Regions from separate parts of the Homo sapiens genome. Here region 2 is linked to region 1. Evidence: promoter capture Hi-C in 16 types of primary human blood cells and fetal thymus (Javierre and others, 2016). All regions are on one chromosome and are shown on one strand. The core of a region is centred on a gene start or on the middle of the fragment in contact, and the rest is flanking DNA. Distances in the headings are between cores, read along the strand shown.

Region 1 (7,933 bases), core at 529-3,028:
GAAGCTGTCACCCATGACCATACGAGTCCTGGTAATAACAGCAGATGCTTATTGAGTGTCTACCCCATGGGGGCATTTTCTCAGCTTCCCACTTACTCGCTCAATCTCTGCAGCTTAATGCAGGGGGCACTATTATTAGCCCACATTGCAGTTGTAATCCTGTAACCCCTGCAAATTCATCTTAAAGCCCTATGCTCTGTCGCCATGGCTGTTGAGTCTCACCTCTTAAGCCTCTTTCCAGGGGCTCCTCCAAGCCACCTCTGGCCTGCAAGGCCCCACTATACCCCCTTCCCATGATGTCATCCAGCCAAGACTGACAGATGGTATCCTCCTCGCCCCAGCCTCTGCAAAACAACGTCCAGTCCCATGCTTCCGGAGGCTGCAGGGAGCCGGGAGCTGGGTCTGCCCTCACGTTCCCCATTCAGGCTGTTGTCTGAAGAGGCTGTGGGCTGCTCCCGAACTGATGTGGTTGGTGAGCAGGTTAGAGAGGAAGGCAGCCCTGCAGCTGATGCTCTGTCTACCTGCTCTCATCCTTCCTGGCCATGAGGTCCCAAGGCCGGCCTGAGGACTGTTTCCCCCACCTGCCCTCTGCTATCCCCTCTATTCCTCCATACCATGGGAGAATGGTCTCATGTTCAGGGGTGGGTAGAAAGATCCTGCCCGCTGTGTGCTCCTGAAATCTCCCAAGCAACTCCCCATTTAAAGCTTCCCCCAGCAGCTCCATCCTTTTTTCCTGGAGGTCTCCAGAATCCAGATCCCTCAATGTCTGGACACCCCGAGTCCACCCAGCACTCCTTATCCACCCAGATCCCTCAATGTCTGGACACCCCGAGTCCACCCAGCATTCCTCATCCACCCAGATGTCCCCAGTCCATCTACGCACCCCTGGTCCACTTAGATACCCCTACCTACCCAGGCACCCCCTCTCCTCCACCCAGCTATCCCCAACCCAGATATCCCTAATCCATGCAGACACTAGTCTTTCAGACACCCCAACCACACTTATCAGTCCTGCCCTCACCTCAGCTGGTTCAACAAGTCCCTGAGAGGAGAATGGTGGGGAAAGGGACATTAGGGGAAGGGACTTCCGTTTATCTCCTGGCTCCAGAAAAGCATTTCACAAGATTTTAGGCGCTTTAACATAAAAGCTTCTATGGGGCAGGGTCAGGGGGCAGGTAGATACTTCCTAATTTAGGGGCAGAGACAAGGAGGGCTTGGAGGAAGGGGCCCCAGCTGCTCACCTGTGTGGTTCACCAGGCTGAGCAGAGGTTCCGGGAGAAATCGGGCTGCCAGGCGGAGTCCTGCGTTTATCCGAAGCTGCCACGCCCTAAGCAAACCTGGGCAGGTAGAAAACAAGTCAGATGCCCTGAGGCCCAGGGGCTCCATTCCTGCTCTTAAAGAGACAGCTTCACCCCCTCCCCAGCCATGGGCGGCAGGTTGCTCCCTGGGGTCACCAGGACCACAGCAGCCTCAGGTGAGACGGAGAATTGGATGGGCTGGAACTCGGCCCCTGGAATTAAGGGAGGAGCTTTCTCCAATCTCCTGTGCCCAGGAGAGGACCTTGAATGGGGAAGGTTCTGGGGTCTTTAAACGGCAGAGCCTCCAGGGCCATGCAGTGAGATGATGCGTTGGTGTTCCGACCTCACTTCTTTTCCTTAGATGATGTGTTTTGCCTGGTGGAAGGATTGCTGGCAGTTGTGGAGAACTTAAAGTCCCCTTCCAGGCCACATCTTGCCGCTGGTACAATTTCAGGATCAGCAGAAGATGCTAGCGTGACCAAAGTCAGGAGATGGGGCAGGGGTGGATATGAGGGAGCGGCTGGAACAGCAGGGAGGGGTCAGGGTGGGGACTCTGGGACCTTAGTCCTGGTCATAACCTGCTCCCTGCCCTGGGGAGAATGAGAACTGTCTGCCAGGCACCAGGCTGCAGTTTCCTAGCCAGGCTCTTTCCGTGGGTGCTGGGAGCCAGACGCCTGGGTCTACAGAGTGGGTGCTGGTGGGGGCGGCTGCCTCCTAGTCCACATAAGGCCCCCAGCACTGTACAAGCCTCCCTCCCCCTTTCCTCCCCTGTCTCCTGCTCCTCCTCCTCCAGGCATTCCTTCCGGATGGGGTCTGTGCAGGCTCCCCCATGGTCCCAGTTGGGGGTGCCCCCTCCCCTCAATTCCGCCTTCTTAGACAGAGGGACTTTTGTCTGGGGGCTGGATGGAGAACAAGGATCCTTTGAGCGGTTGGCGGAGGATTGGGGTCACGGGGAGGGGTAGGGCCAGGAAAGGGGTAGCTCTGCCCTGGACACCAGCTGGACTCCAGGCGACCCCAACACCACCGTGGGGGCGGGGAGGAGGGCTGCAGGGCCTGGCCAGGGAGAAGCAGCTGCTGGGAGTGTGGAGCACAGGACAGGAAAAGGGGGTTTGGGTCAAGGCTCTTCCGGAAACTGGCCTGCTGGGGGCAGAGAGAAGGACCCCCCACTTGTCATCGCTGAGGGATCGGGGAGGGCAATGTTCGCCCAGCGCTACACCCCTTCTCTATGTGGTTCCCTGGGGCAAGTTGTCAAGCCCAGGTCCTAGACAAGGGTAAGGCTCCCTCCTACCACTCTTAAGGCGGGGCCAGTTCCCATAAGGAAGCCGGGCGGGGGGACCTCGGGGTAGGGCTCTAAGCAACAGGTCCAGGAGGAGATAGAAACAGGAAGGGGAGGCCCGGAGGCCAACTCAGTATAGCTAAGGGGGGTCTTTGTGTCTGGGCGGATAGCGTCTCTTCCCTAGACCCTTGAAGCTTGTGTCTGGGACGACCCCTTGGTGGTCTTGGGAGTGGAATGGTGTCTCCCTCTGCTGGGAAGCCTGGGAACTGCAGGCATCCGAGAGCGAGTAGGGGCGTGTACAGGGTGGCTGGGAAGGGCGGGGGGTGCTCTGCCCTTCACCGGAACGGGGTGAACTGGAGAACTGTTGTCTAAAAATCTTGGAGGAACACCCCTGCCCGTGGTTAGATACAGAAGTATTTCCCAGACAGCTTGCTAAGGGGAAAAAAAACAAGGTATTGGGAAACCGTGCAGTGTGCTACCATTTGTGAGCGGTAAAATAATGCATATGTATATACTTGTAATGAATAAAATATTTTTGGAGATTGGCATCCATACCCATGGCTTCTGGAGAGGGAAACTGGGAGGCTGGAGGGTGGGGTGGAAGTGAGACTCACTCATTATCACGTGCCCTCTTATATTTTTTGAATTTTGCATCTTGAAAATGTACTACCTTAAAGGGGTTTAATTTAAAAAATTTGGTTCAGATTTAAAAAAAAATTTGCAGGTCAAAATTTCAACCTAAGGGCTGGTTTCAACCTGGGGGACCAGCAATTAGAGACTTCTGACAACCTCTGAATGTTCTGTAGTTTTAAACACCATGATCTTACATTCTGAGGTACAGACGTTTACGGTTTTTACCCAATCCAGGTCAACCATAAATTCTTCCTAGGCTGGACGTGAACATGCTGCGTCCAAGTGTGTGTTGGGCTGGCGCTGGGGCTTGGGTTTATGGTCAGAAGGACTCTGAGACCCTAGTGTGATGAGCACACTGAGTCTTAGGAAGGGCTGTGAGGAGTAGAGTTTGTGCAGTCACTTGCACCCTATTGGGGATTAGGTCTCATTTGGAGTGAGTCTTCTGGGCCAATCTGACTTCAGTTATGTTTTAAATGCATGTAGGTAATATGTTTTATTAATATATTGTATATAATATACATAATAAACATATTTGAAAAAGTTTCTCTCGTTTTGCTTTTGGAATCATTTGGGCCCAAAGAACCTGTTAAGGCTGTGAGTGGCTGTGATTTCTCCATATCCTGGGAATTCTTGCAAAATGAAAAAAACCAAACCTACAGATAGTTTCTGACATCATAAGTTTTTCAGGAACGCTGAATTAAAGCACAGAATCAAAGCCAGAGCATGTTATACCATCCCTGATTCAAACTTTTATTGATTTTGTTTCAATAATTTCGTTGCTCTTTATTCAAGGCTGGGAGCGTTTCTGCAGGCTCCTGGCCCTAGAGAGGGCAGCCTGGAGGCACCCCCAGCCATGAGAGGGGTGCTGGTTGGGTGGGGCCTTGCCTTTGCAGGTAGAGCCTGAGCGGCCAGGCTGACCGGCTGGGAGGTGTGGTCACAGCGATACGCCAAGGTCCCACTTCCTGGGCAAGATGGGGCTAGAGAGGCCGGTGGACAGGGTAATGTGGCTTCCTGGGGCTTTGTGGAACAGCGCTGTGGTCTCAGCACCTGTGGGAGAAGAGTGGGCACTGGCAGGTAACCCTGTCCCACCACCATGGGGATGGTGTGGCTGTGGACGTATCACTGTCCGCCTGGCTTCCAGGAGCCATGTGAGGTGACACAGTGGCCAAGAGTCCACAGGCTCCCTGACACCTGCCTCTGTGCTGCTCTGACGTCATCACTCACCCACAGAAGCTAGAAATGGAGATTTTTATGATGAAATCTCCTGTTTTGTTTTGTTTTTTTTTTGAGATGGAATTTTGCTCTTGTCGCCCAGGCTGAAGTGCAGTGGCACGATCTCAGCTCACTGCAACCTCTGCCTTCCAGGTTCAAGCAATTCTCGTGCCTCAGCCTCTCGAGTAGGTGGGATTACAGGTGTGTGCCACCACGCCCGGCTAATTTTTGTATATTTAGTACAGACGGGGTTTCACCGTGCTGGCCAGGCTGGTTTCCAACTCCTGACCTCAAGTGATCCGCCTGCCTCAGCCTCCCAAAATGCTGGGATTACAGGCATGAGCCACCGAGCCCGGCCTTCCGGATTTTTTTTTTTTAAGGTGAGTTCTTGCTCTGTTGCCCAAGCTGGAGTGTAGTGGTCCAATCATGGCTCACTGCAGCCTCCAACTCCTGGGCTTAAGTGATTCTCCCACCTCAGCCTCCCCTGTAGCTGGGACTACAAATGCACGTCACCACACCTGGCTAATTTTTTAATTTTTTTAGAGACGGGGGTCTCGCTATGTTGCCCAACCTGGTCTTGAACTCTGGGTCTCAAGTGATCCTCCCACCTTGGCTTCCCGAAGCGCAGGGATTATAGGTGCAAGCCACTGCACCCGGCCCTGATTTTTAAATGTTGGTAACTTCGTTTTCTTAACACTTTGTAGACAGAATGAAAAATATCCAGTGGTTGGATAAGGCCCTGGGGCCACCGGTTGGAGACCCCCATCTTACAGACTAGGGAAACTCAGGGGAGGTTCAGGGTTCCCCCTAACCCCTGTTGTCACTCACTCTGCTCCGGCCACCTGGGCCTCCTTGCCGTTCCTGGATCACTCCAGGCATGTTTCTGGCCAAGAGCCCTTGCAATGCCTATTCCCTTGCCTGGCTCTCTTTTCTCCCGCATCTGGACAGCTCAAAGCCATGAGGTTCAAGTGGCTTTCCCCGACCACCATCGCACCTACCCCCTGACCTCTCTATGACCTTTTGACTTCTGTTTGCTTTTTTTTTTTTTTTTTTGTGGTGCTATCTGCCTCCCCTGCTAGCACGTCAGCTCCTCTCAGGGATTTTCATCTGAATTATAGAACAGGGCCTGGTGCATAGTGGGTGGTCACGAAGTATCTGTTAATTACCAGGCTGGGCACCATGGCTCACGCCTGTAATCCCAGCACTCTGGGGGGCCGAGGCTGGAGGATCCTTTGAGTCCAGGAGTTCAAGACCAGCCTGGGCAATATAGAGAGATCTTGTCTCTACAAAAATAAAAATAAAAGTAGGTTTAAAACAATTATAAAAGAAAGGCTTTCTCCACCGCCACCCCCCATCCACGGAGGCCTTGCAGGAGGAGCTGAGGTGGGGGTGCTGAGGGTGGAGCTGCTGATGGGGGCAGGGGGTGTGGAGGAATGAATGTCTTGGCCAGCTTCCCCATCATGTGGGGAGTGGGGGCGGCGTGGTGGGGGTGGGGAGGGCTTGGGCAGATGGCTGGGGGTCCTGGGTGCGGGCAGGAACTACAGGGAAGCAGGAAAGGGCAGGGAACACATTTGGAGCTAGACATCTGGGACAGGGACTTCTGGTTCAAGTGGGAGCCCTGCAGCCCGCCCCCCCCCCCCAGCCTGACTCAGTCCCTAAGAGAAGGATTGCAAACTGGCGGTCCCAGGGTGGAACCCAACTATTGTACCTTTAGTTTTTACAAAGCATTGCAAAAATTAATAATTGCAAACATTTAAACAGCAGGACAAGCTGTGTTTCCAGCATCTCTGGAAAAGTCTGGACTAAAAGACCCCCATTCCCACCTGGAAGCCATTGCTGAGGTGGCAGGTCTGTCTCCCTGGGGTGCCCCAGGCCCCAGCTCTGCCTGGTTTGATGGAGGGAGGGAGGGAGGGAAGGAGGGAGGGAGGGAGGGAGAGAAGGAGACGGGCGCTTGCGGTTGCTCCGGCCCAGACCTGCTCCTGTCACCTCCCATCTCAGACCTGCCTTCCACCTTCAAGGCCATGATTACAGCACAGACTCGACAGATGCAGCTTCTGGGGTGCCTCGGGGCATGGTTGACACAGCAAAGGCCCCAGGACTGTCCTCCGCAGAACAGGAAGAGAGGGCGAATCCGCCTGAAGGATTCAGGAAGAGCTCTGTCCTGTTTTGTGATCTCCCTCCAGAAAAAGGCTAAATATTTATTTATTGGTCAACCAACAACAGAGAAGACTGAGTCTTTTGAAAACGCCTGGACAAGTAAATAGGGACAGGAAAAGTGAGACACAGAAACTCAGAAGAAAATTACATAGATATAAAGAGATAAAGCGAATCAGGCAAAATACTAAGAATTGAGGAAGCTATGTGAAGGGTATTTGAGTGGATTGTACGGGTTACATGACTTTTCTATAGTCGAAAATCTCAAAAGTTGGGGAAAAAAATCAATTAAACAATATATTTTTTCAAGACAATGTCTTGCTCTGTCACCCAGGCTGCAGTGCAGTGGTGAGATCTTGGCTCACTGTGCAACCTCCGCCTCCCAGGTTCAAGTAATTCTCCTGTCTCAGCCTCTGAGTAGCTTGGGATTACAGGTGCCCGCCACCACACCCGGCTAATTTTTTGTCATTTTTTAGTAGAGATGGGGTTTCACCATGTTGGCCAGGCTAGTCTCGAACTCCTGACCTCAAGTGATCCGCCCGCCTGGTCCTCCCAAAGTGCTAGGATTACAAGCGTGAGCCATTGCGCCCAGCCCTTAAAAATGTAATATTAAAGTTAACACAAAATAATAAATCACAAGATAAAAAACAACACCGAAAAAGTGGAAGGAAAAGTAAATTTAGAACCAGGTAAACTAACAGTTAAGGAAACAGAATTTAAATGAACTTAAGAAACTCTATATTTATGTATATTACTATAGTTTATATATTGAATATTTTATCTATATATATTTTTCCTTTTACTGTCTATATATTTTTCCTTTGCCTGTGTTCTTGTTGGCCCTCCCACAATGTCTTCCTTCTCCTTCCTCCTGGATGAGTTCACCGTTCACAGCCCCTTGGGTCCCAGCTCTGCCCCTTCCTGGCTGTGGGTGACTTAACTCCTCCTGGCCACCCAGCCCCAGCCCCCTAACGGTGGGAGCCCCAAGGCTCTGAGGCTGGTGCTGGGGCTGGCAGGCTCCCTCCTGGCTGCAGAGGCAGGACCATGAGTCTGCAGTTCTAAGATCCTGGCTGGCACCCTCAGCTGCGGGGAGGCACTGACCCAGCAGCCTGCTGGCAGCCGGGACCCATCTCCACATCCCCTTCCCCCTGCACCCTGGTATCCAAGAAGGCAGTGCCGCACTCAGCCTGCGCCAGCGCCACACCCCTGCTCGGGCCTGAGTCATTTACCTACGATTGCTGACTGTCTCTCTATTCTCAACCAATAATCCGGGGGCTTGTGGCTGCAGGACTTAACTGCCTGCGGAGAGTTATTCTTCCACTTAGGGAAACTGCGGCACCCGGGCTTAGTTGTTTAGCGG
Region 2 (7,933 bases), core at 1,506-4,005, 300 kb before region 1:
ACATTATGTCCATCTCAGCTTCAAACTTGCTTTAAGCTAAGGAAGGAGAATATTTGGTTTTCAAATCTAAAAATCCCCAGAGTAGATCTGCTTTAGGACATCAAATGCCTGAATGTGTGGTTTTTCTCTGTTTCACCTTCCTTTAAGTTGACTTCAGGCTTAGGCAGCCTCTCTTCACAATGGCCCCCAGAAGAGAGGGACCAGCCTTCAAGTTCAAGATCAGTAGAAGAGAGGTTCTTTCTCCTGGTGGTTAAAAGAGAAGGGCTGGCCAGGTGCGGTGGTTCATGCCTATAATCCCAGCACTTTGGGAGGCCAAGGTGGGTGGATCATGAGGTCAAGAGATCGAGACCATCCTGGCCAACATGGTGAATCCCCGTCTCTACTAAAAATACAAAAATTAGCTGGGCGGGGTGGTGCGCGCCTCTAGTCCTAGCTACTCAGGAGGCTGAGGCAGGAGAATTGCTTGAACCTGGGAGGCAGAGGTTGCAGTGAGCCAAGATTAACGCCACTGCACTCAAGCCTGGTGAGACTCTGTCTCAAAAAAAAAAAAAAAAAAAAAGGCTGGATCCACAGTGGGTGCACTCTGTCACCCAGGCTGGAGTGTGCAGTGGCATGGTCTTGGCTCACTGCAACCTCCACATCCCGTGTTCAAGTGATTCTTCCGCCTCAGCCTCCCAAGTAGCTGGGATTACAGGTGTGCACCACCACGCCCAGCTCATTTTTGTATTTTTAGTAGAGACAGGGTTTCGCCAAGTTAGCCTGGCTGGTCTCAAACTCCTGACCTCAACTGATTCGCCTGCCTCAGCCTTCCCATGTGCTGGGATTACAGATGTGAGCCACCATGCCCAGCCTGGGTTCATCTTTCATTGGTCTGGATTGAGTCATGCACCCAAGTGTGAACCATCACTGTGGTCAGAGGATGAACTGTAGATGAGCAGGGTCCTGGTTTCACACCTGCCCCTGGAGCAGGAGCTGGGGGTAAAGTCAGCTCCACCAAACCACATGGCAGAGGACAAGGGAGAGATGTTGCTAAGAAGGCCAAACCAATCGGTGCCATCTCTGATTGCTGGTTCATTTTTGAAAAGAGACTGTAGAGAATGTTATGATAAAATTGCAATCCTCAGGGTCCAACAATCAGTACACTCTTCCACCCCTTCCTCTTGTGTTTTTTTTTTTTTTTTTTGGTTGTTGTTTGCTTTAGACGGAGTGTCTGCTCTTGTTGCCCAGGTTGGAGTGCAATGGCATGATTTTGGCTCACTACAGCCTCTGCCTCTTGGATTCAAGTGATTCTCCTGTCTCAGCCTCTCAAGTAGCTGGGATTACAGCTGCACACCACCACGCCCAGCTAATTTTTATATTGTTAGTAGAGATGGGGTTTTGCCATGTTGGCCAGGCTGGTCTTGAACTCCTGGCCTCAGGTGATCTGCCTGCCTCAGCCTCCCAAAGTGCTGGAATTACAGGCATGAGCCACCATGCCCGGCACACCCCTCCCTCTTATCACTGTGTCCCACCCCTAGGAGCAGGACTTCCCCAAGGTCATTGAGAGTAACATTGTAAATGGTGGCATCTTGAGCCCATCTTTAGGAGAAAGGTCTCCCATAAGTTTACAGAAATCAAGTGACCTAACGTCACATCACAGTCCCTTTCTGGTGGACACTCACTCTCCCCACCATTAACCTGAAAACCGGAGAGGGCTGAAGGAGCCTTGCCGGTAACCTTCAAACTTCCATTCCTCGCTTAACACAATGCCTCAGGAACCATTTATTTACCGGGAGGTGCAATGGAACTAGTTGAATCGCCCTAGCTTATATTAACTAGGTGCTATCAAGTAGTCTAACAGTAAAATTGAGGCTTTCACAAAGGCTTTGTGAATTCCCCCGTTCAAAATAAAACACACTAAGCCTGTTTATAACTTTTGCCCTGAAAATCTTTCTTTAATCTTTGCTGACAGGAATTAAATATGCACTTTCCCTAGGATGACATAGGACAAATATAATTAGTATTATGCTTTCCTTCTCCCCCAGTTCCTATAGCCTCTAAGATTGGAAATCCTACATATAGTTTGGGTTAATATTCCACCTAATTGTAGATGAAGTAATCCTTCCCCATAAAACAAGAAGAAAAACTCCAATTTAAACAATCCTTAGGCCAGGCGCGGTGGCTCAAACCTGTAATTCTAGCACTTTGAGAGGCTGAGGTTGATGAATCACTTGAGGCCAGGAGTTCAAGACCAGCCTGGCCAACATGGTGAAACCCCATCTCTACTAAAAATACAAACATTTGCCAGGTGTGGTGGCGCATGCCTGTAATCCCAGCAACTCGGGAAGCTGAGGCATAAGAATTGCTTGAGCCTGGGAGGCGGAGGTTGCAGTGAGCCAAGCTCATGCCACTGCACTGCAGCAGTCTGGGTTACAGAGCGAGACTCTGTCTCAAAAAAAAAAAAAAAAAAAAAAAAAAAGCATCTTTAGAACAGGAACTAACATAACATGGTGAATACAGGTCTGTGCGGCGCAATTACATCCCATCCATCTGAGCCGGCTTTGTTACTTCTTTATCTCCTCATGGAATAGTTCTGATTGTTAAGTATCATATTTAATATCTCAACAAGCTTTGCATTTTATCAGGCAAACTTTAAACTCACTTTGAGAGGTTAAGTGGCATTAGACTTTATGAAATTTCGAATCATTAAAGACACATCAGGTAGCAGAAGGTTTTATATGTGCACAATTGCACTTAGCAGAGTAATCCTGTCTGTCATCTCACCAGGTCAGCAATTCTCAAACTTGTGGATCTCAAGGTCGGTTTATACTCTTGAAAATTACTGAAGGGATGGGTGTGGTGGCTCACCCCTCTAATCCCAACACTTTGGGAGGCTGAGGCAGGTGGATTGCTTTAAGCTTAGGAGTTTGAGACCAACCCGGGCAACATGGCAAAACCCCATCTCCACAAAAAATACAAGAATTAGCTGAGCATGGTGGCGTGCACCTGTAGTTCCAGCTACTTGGGAGGCTGAGGTGGGAGGGTTGCTTGAGCCTGGGAAGACGAGGCTGCAGTGAGTTGTGTTCATGCCACTGCACTCACCCTGGGTGGCAGAGTGAGACACTGTCTCGAAAAAAAAAAGAAAAAAGAAAAAAAAGGAAAGAAAAGCAAAAATGAAAATTCCTGCCAGGCGTGGTGGCTCATATCTATAATCCTAGGACCTTGGGAGACTGAGGTGGGCAGATCATGAGGTCAGGAGTGCGAGACCAGCCTGACCAACATGGTGAAACCCTGTCTCTACTAAAAATACAAAAATTAGCCGGGCATGGTGGCTTGTGCCTGTAATCTCAGCTACTTGGGAGGCTGAGGCAGGAGAATCGCTTGAAGCCAGGAGGCAGAGGTTGCGGTGAGCCGAGATCACACCACTGTACTCCAGCCTTGGCAACAAGAGTGAAACTGCGTATCAAAAAAAACAAAAAAAAAAAACAAAAAAAAAACAAAGTTAAAACAGAAAAATTTAAAAATGTGTATTAACTTATCTTATAATAATAATAACCATAAAACCATTACATGTTAATATAAATGACACGTTCCTAGAAAAAACAACTATATCTTCAAAAAATTCGTGACAGTGGCATTGTTTTACATTTTTGCAGATCTCTTTAATGCCTGGCTTAATAGAAGACAGCTGTATTTTCCTATCTGGTCTGCATTCATTCCGTCATGATATCACGTCACGTAGCTCTCAAAACCTCCACTGTGCACATTATTTGTGAGATAATGAAGGTGAAGAGAGCAATCAGCATTTTAATAGCATTATGAATAGTTTTGACCTCACAGACAGTGCTTTGAAAACTGCTGCCCTAGATTCACATAGTTCGAAGCTACTTGGGTTGGGTTTTCCTTGATGTGTGGTATTAAAGGGAAGAAGGAAGGGAGGGAGGGAGTAACTCATTGAGGAACTCCTACCATCTTACAGTGTTTAAAATAACCACTAAATAATGGAAACAGAACATACAGTTTCCAAGTCAGTGGAGGAATAAATGAAATGAGAAAGAAAAGAAATAAACGAACTGAATCTCAAAAGAAGGCTAGAGAGAAGAAAAAAAGAAATATTAAAAGGTGAGGGATGGCTTGGCAAGGTGGCTCACACCTGTAATACCAGCACTTTGGGAGGCCGAGGTGGTTGGATCACCTAAGGTCAGCAGTTCAAGACCAGCTTGGTCAACATGGTGAAACCCCGTCTTTAATAAAAATGCCAAAATTAGCCAGGCATAGTGGCACACACCTGTAATCCAAGCTACTTGGGAGGCTGAGGCACGAGAATTGCTTGAACCCAGGAGGTGGAGGTTGCAGTGAGCTGAGATCATGCCGTTGACTTCAGCCTGGGCAACAGAGTGAGACTGTGTCTGAAAATAAAATAAAATAGAATAAAATAAAATAAAATAAAATAAAATAAAAGATGAGGGAAATAAAAAGCACAAAATAATATGGTAGACTTTTTGCTTTTTCTTAAATAGGTGTGTTCACTCTGTGATATTTGTGATAGTTTATTTGGCCTGTACACTTATTATTTGGCCATGCATGGTGATATGGTTTGGCTGTGTCCCCACCTAAATCTCATCTTGAATTGCAGTTCCCATAATCCCAAGTGTCATGGGAGGAACCAGGTGGGAGGTAATTGAATCATGGGGTGGGTTACCCTCATGCTGTTCTCCTGATAGTGAGTGAGTTCTCACGAGATCTAATGGTTTTATCAGATGGCTTCTCCCATTTTGCTCTGCACTTCTTGCTGCTGCCATGTGAAGAAGGACCTGTTTGCTTTCCCTTCCACCATGATTCTATGTTTTCTGAGGCTTGCCCAGCCCCGTGGAACTGTGAGTCAATTAAACCTCTCTTCTTTGTAAATTACCCAGTCTCGGGTATGTCTTTACTAGCAGCGTGAGAATGGACTAATACACACGGTATGCATGTATATTTCAATATATGTGCACATACTTCACTAAAAGTATTTAAAATAAGATGACAGAGATAAATTCAAATATATTGGAAATTATTATTTTATAACTATAAATGGACAAAATGGTACAGTTAAAAGACAAATATTGTCCAGTTGTCAGACCAGATTACAAAAAAATCCAACCACTCTATACACTGCTTAGGAAAAGCACATTTAAAACATAAAGATATAGCAAGGTTGAATGTAGAAGGATGGACAGAGATGGACTGGCAAATAATAAGCAAAAACCAAGTTGATGTGGCTCTGTTAATATCAGACAAAATCAATGTTAAGGCAGAAAGAATTTTGAAAGTTTCAATTCACCAGGGAGACAGAACTACAAGGAGAAATAGGCAAATTTACCATGATAGAAGGAGCATGTAACACACCTCTTCATATAACTGATAGATTAAATAGATGAAAATGTATATAAAGGTTATGAAGATTTGAACATCATAAATTAACAAGTTTGATCTAAGGTATATACAGAGAACATAGCACCCAACAATTACAGAATCTATCTTCTTTTCATTACTGGAATACTAGAATACTGTTTATATTCTAAGCCAAAAAACAATTCTCAGCAAATTTCAAAGAACTGATACCATTGAAACAATACTCTGTAGTTAGAAATGAATAACAAAAGGATAAAGGGGGGAAACATCTGTGTTTGAAAATTAAGGTACATTTCCAAAGTCAAGAGTCAAATAAAAAAATCCCATGGAATTTGGAGCCTATTTAGAACTCAAAATAATGAGAATGCTGCAAATCAAAACTTGTGACATCCCACTAAAGCTGTTCTTAGAGGGAAATCTATCCAACACACTAAATGCTTACATTAGCAAAGAAGAAAGGCTAAAATGAACGAGCATCCAAGTTAACATGTTAGAAAAGGAGCAACAGAGAAGACTCAATAAAGTAAAAGGAAGGAAACAATAAAGATAAGATTAGAAATCAATGCAACAAGAAAACAAAGATAAATGCTGGAGAGGATCTTGGTTTTCTGAAAAGACAAATTAATGGGTCTCTTGGCAAGACTGAGAAAGGAAAAAAGAAGGCACAAACACAGTAGGATGTAACCACTCAAAAGTATCATGACCTGTTTCTTCCCATCACGTGGACTCTGCTCCGAAGGACAGTTGCTTTTCTTGCCTGGTTTGTCCACCTGTGCCAGCCACTGCTTTGTTTCGGGTGCCGGTCCTTTGAGTCCACATGCAGGCTCCTGCCTTGCTCCCCAGACTTGCCTGTGCTGGGTTGTTCAGATCCAGCATGAGGAACCCCCTTTTCTGAATCGGGGCCAAGGATAGAATTAAGAGCTCTGCAGCAGATAAGTCAGTGCTACTGTCTTCTAGATATAGAGTAGGGAAGATAAAGAATTCCAAGACTCTGATATTACAAGATAAAAAGGCTTGTGGCTTACCATGAGGCAGTACCAGCCATAATGAAGAAAATGTCATAGGCTGGGTGTGGTGGCTGATGCTTGTAAACTCAGCACTTGGGGAGGCCCAGGAGGGAAGATCGCTTGAAGGCAGAAGTTGTTGAACATCCTGGCCAACATAGTGAAACCCTGTCTCTATAAAAAATAAACAATTAGCCGGCCATGGTGGCGTGCACCTGGAGTCCCAGCTACTCAGGAGGCTGAGGCAGGAGGATGGCTTGAACCCATGAGTTAGAAGCTGCAGTGTGATGTGATCACACTACTGCATTCCAGCCTGGGTGACAGAGGGAAACCCTGTCTCTAAAACCAACCAACCAACCAACCAACCAAACAAACAAACAAACCAAAACAAAAGGAAAGAAAAGAAAATAGAAAATATCATAGACCCCAAGGAACAAAATGAAAACACTCACTCAATGGCTGAGTTGGGTTTGAGCTATCTACTACTCTCCTTGACCTCTGAAACTGGGCACAGGAGAACTCACCTTAGTTCTGTTTCATTGTTCCTCTTTTTGAGCCCTCCTTCCCCAAAAGGTTACCCCAAGCTGGCGCCTCTAATCTCCTGTGAAGGTGACATTGGCCGTCCCTAAGATCCACATCTTCTCTCTGCAGCTGGCTCTCCAGAGCTTTCACCACCACCCAGACAGTGAGACCCCCGCCGTGCTGCCACCTCCGTGGCCCTCTGTCAAAGGCTTTGCGCACGGTGGAGGAAGAGAAACAGAAAATCAAGGGGTTAGGCTGGGCATGGTGGCTCACGCCTGTAATTGCAACACTTTGGGAGGCCAAGGTGGGCAGATCACTTGCGGTCAGGAGTTTGACACCAGCCTGAGTAGGGGTTGAAACCTCGTCTCTACTAAAAATACAAAAATTAGCCGGGTGTGGTGGTGGGTGCCTGTAATCCCAGCTACCCGGGAGGCTGAGGCAGGAGAACCCAGGAGGCGGAGGTTGCAGTGAGCCAAGATCATCACACCACTGCACTCCAGCCTGGGTGACAGAGCAAGACTCCATCTCAAAAACAAAACAAAACAAAATAAAAACAAAAACAAAGAAAATCAAGGGGTCAATGCAGCATCGAGAGCACTGAACAACACTGCGCCTGCCCACCAATTTGACTCTTCCACTGGGGGAACCCACCATGGGAGACAAAGCACAGGGTCCAAGCAGACCAGGAAGTTGAAGAGGGTCACGGCAGCCAGTCTCTTGGCTCTTCAGCACCTCCAGGTCCCCACTTGGGGCCAGAGAGCATGATCTGCACAAAGTGCCAGTGGCAGAAGGTGGTGACCGCCATGGGGGTGAAGAAGAGCTCCAAGCACAGCTCCAGCTGCAGCACCACGGCCAGCTGCTCTTGGGGGACGTTCTCATAGCAGATACGGAGCCCTCTGGCATATCTCATCATCTTCTTGGTAAAAACTAGACAATGAGCCAGGCATGGTGGCTCATGCCTCCCAGCACTTTGGGAGGCTGAGGCAGGCAGATCACTTTAGGTCAGGAGTTCGAGACCAACCTGGCTAACATGG

Evidence for each region. Contacts are between HindIII fragments. The CHiCAGO score rates a contact against its expected background, and 5 or more counts as called.
Region 2: a contact is called between a fragment that was not itself captured here and the fragment with the promoter of FXYD3 in region 1, in 4 of 17 cell types (total B cells, naive B cells, total CD4 T cells and 1 more). The highest score is 10.2, in total B cells.

Annotation. Positions count from the first base shown.
Region 1 is chr19:35,109,668-35,117,600 of GRCh38, reverse strand. It overlaps FXYD3 (FXYD domain containing ion transport regulator 3), which reads right to left and starts at 1,778. Exons shown (of 9, transcript NM_005971.4): 1 at 1,642-1,778; 2 at 1,242-1,337. It overlaps LOC124904701 (hepatitis A virus cellular receptor 1-like), which reads right to left. Exons shown (of 3, transcript XR_007067238.1): 3 at 3,932-4,254. RefSeq lists an enhancer at 7,740-7,933. The HindIII fragment of the contact is 1,620 bases long and covers 1,151-2,770 here.
Region 2 is chr19:35,407,617-35,415,549 of GRCh38, reverse strand. It overlaps LINC01531 (long intergenic non-protein coding RNA 1531), which reads right to left. Exons shown (of 5, transcript NR_040046.1): 2 at 6,399-7,933; 3 at 6,078-6,264; 4 at 4,268-4,388. It also overlaps the pseudogene RN7SL491P. Among named protein-coding and RNA genes, the nearest start is that of LINC01531, 6.0 kb to the right of the region's middle. The HindIII fragment of the contact is 289 bases long and covers 2,611-2,899 here.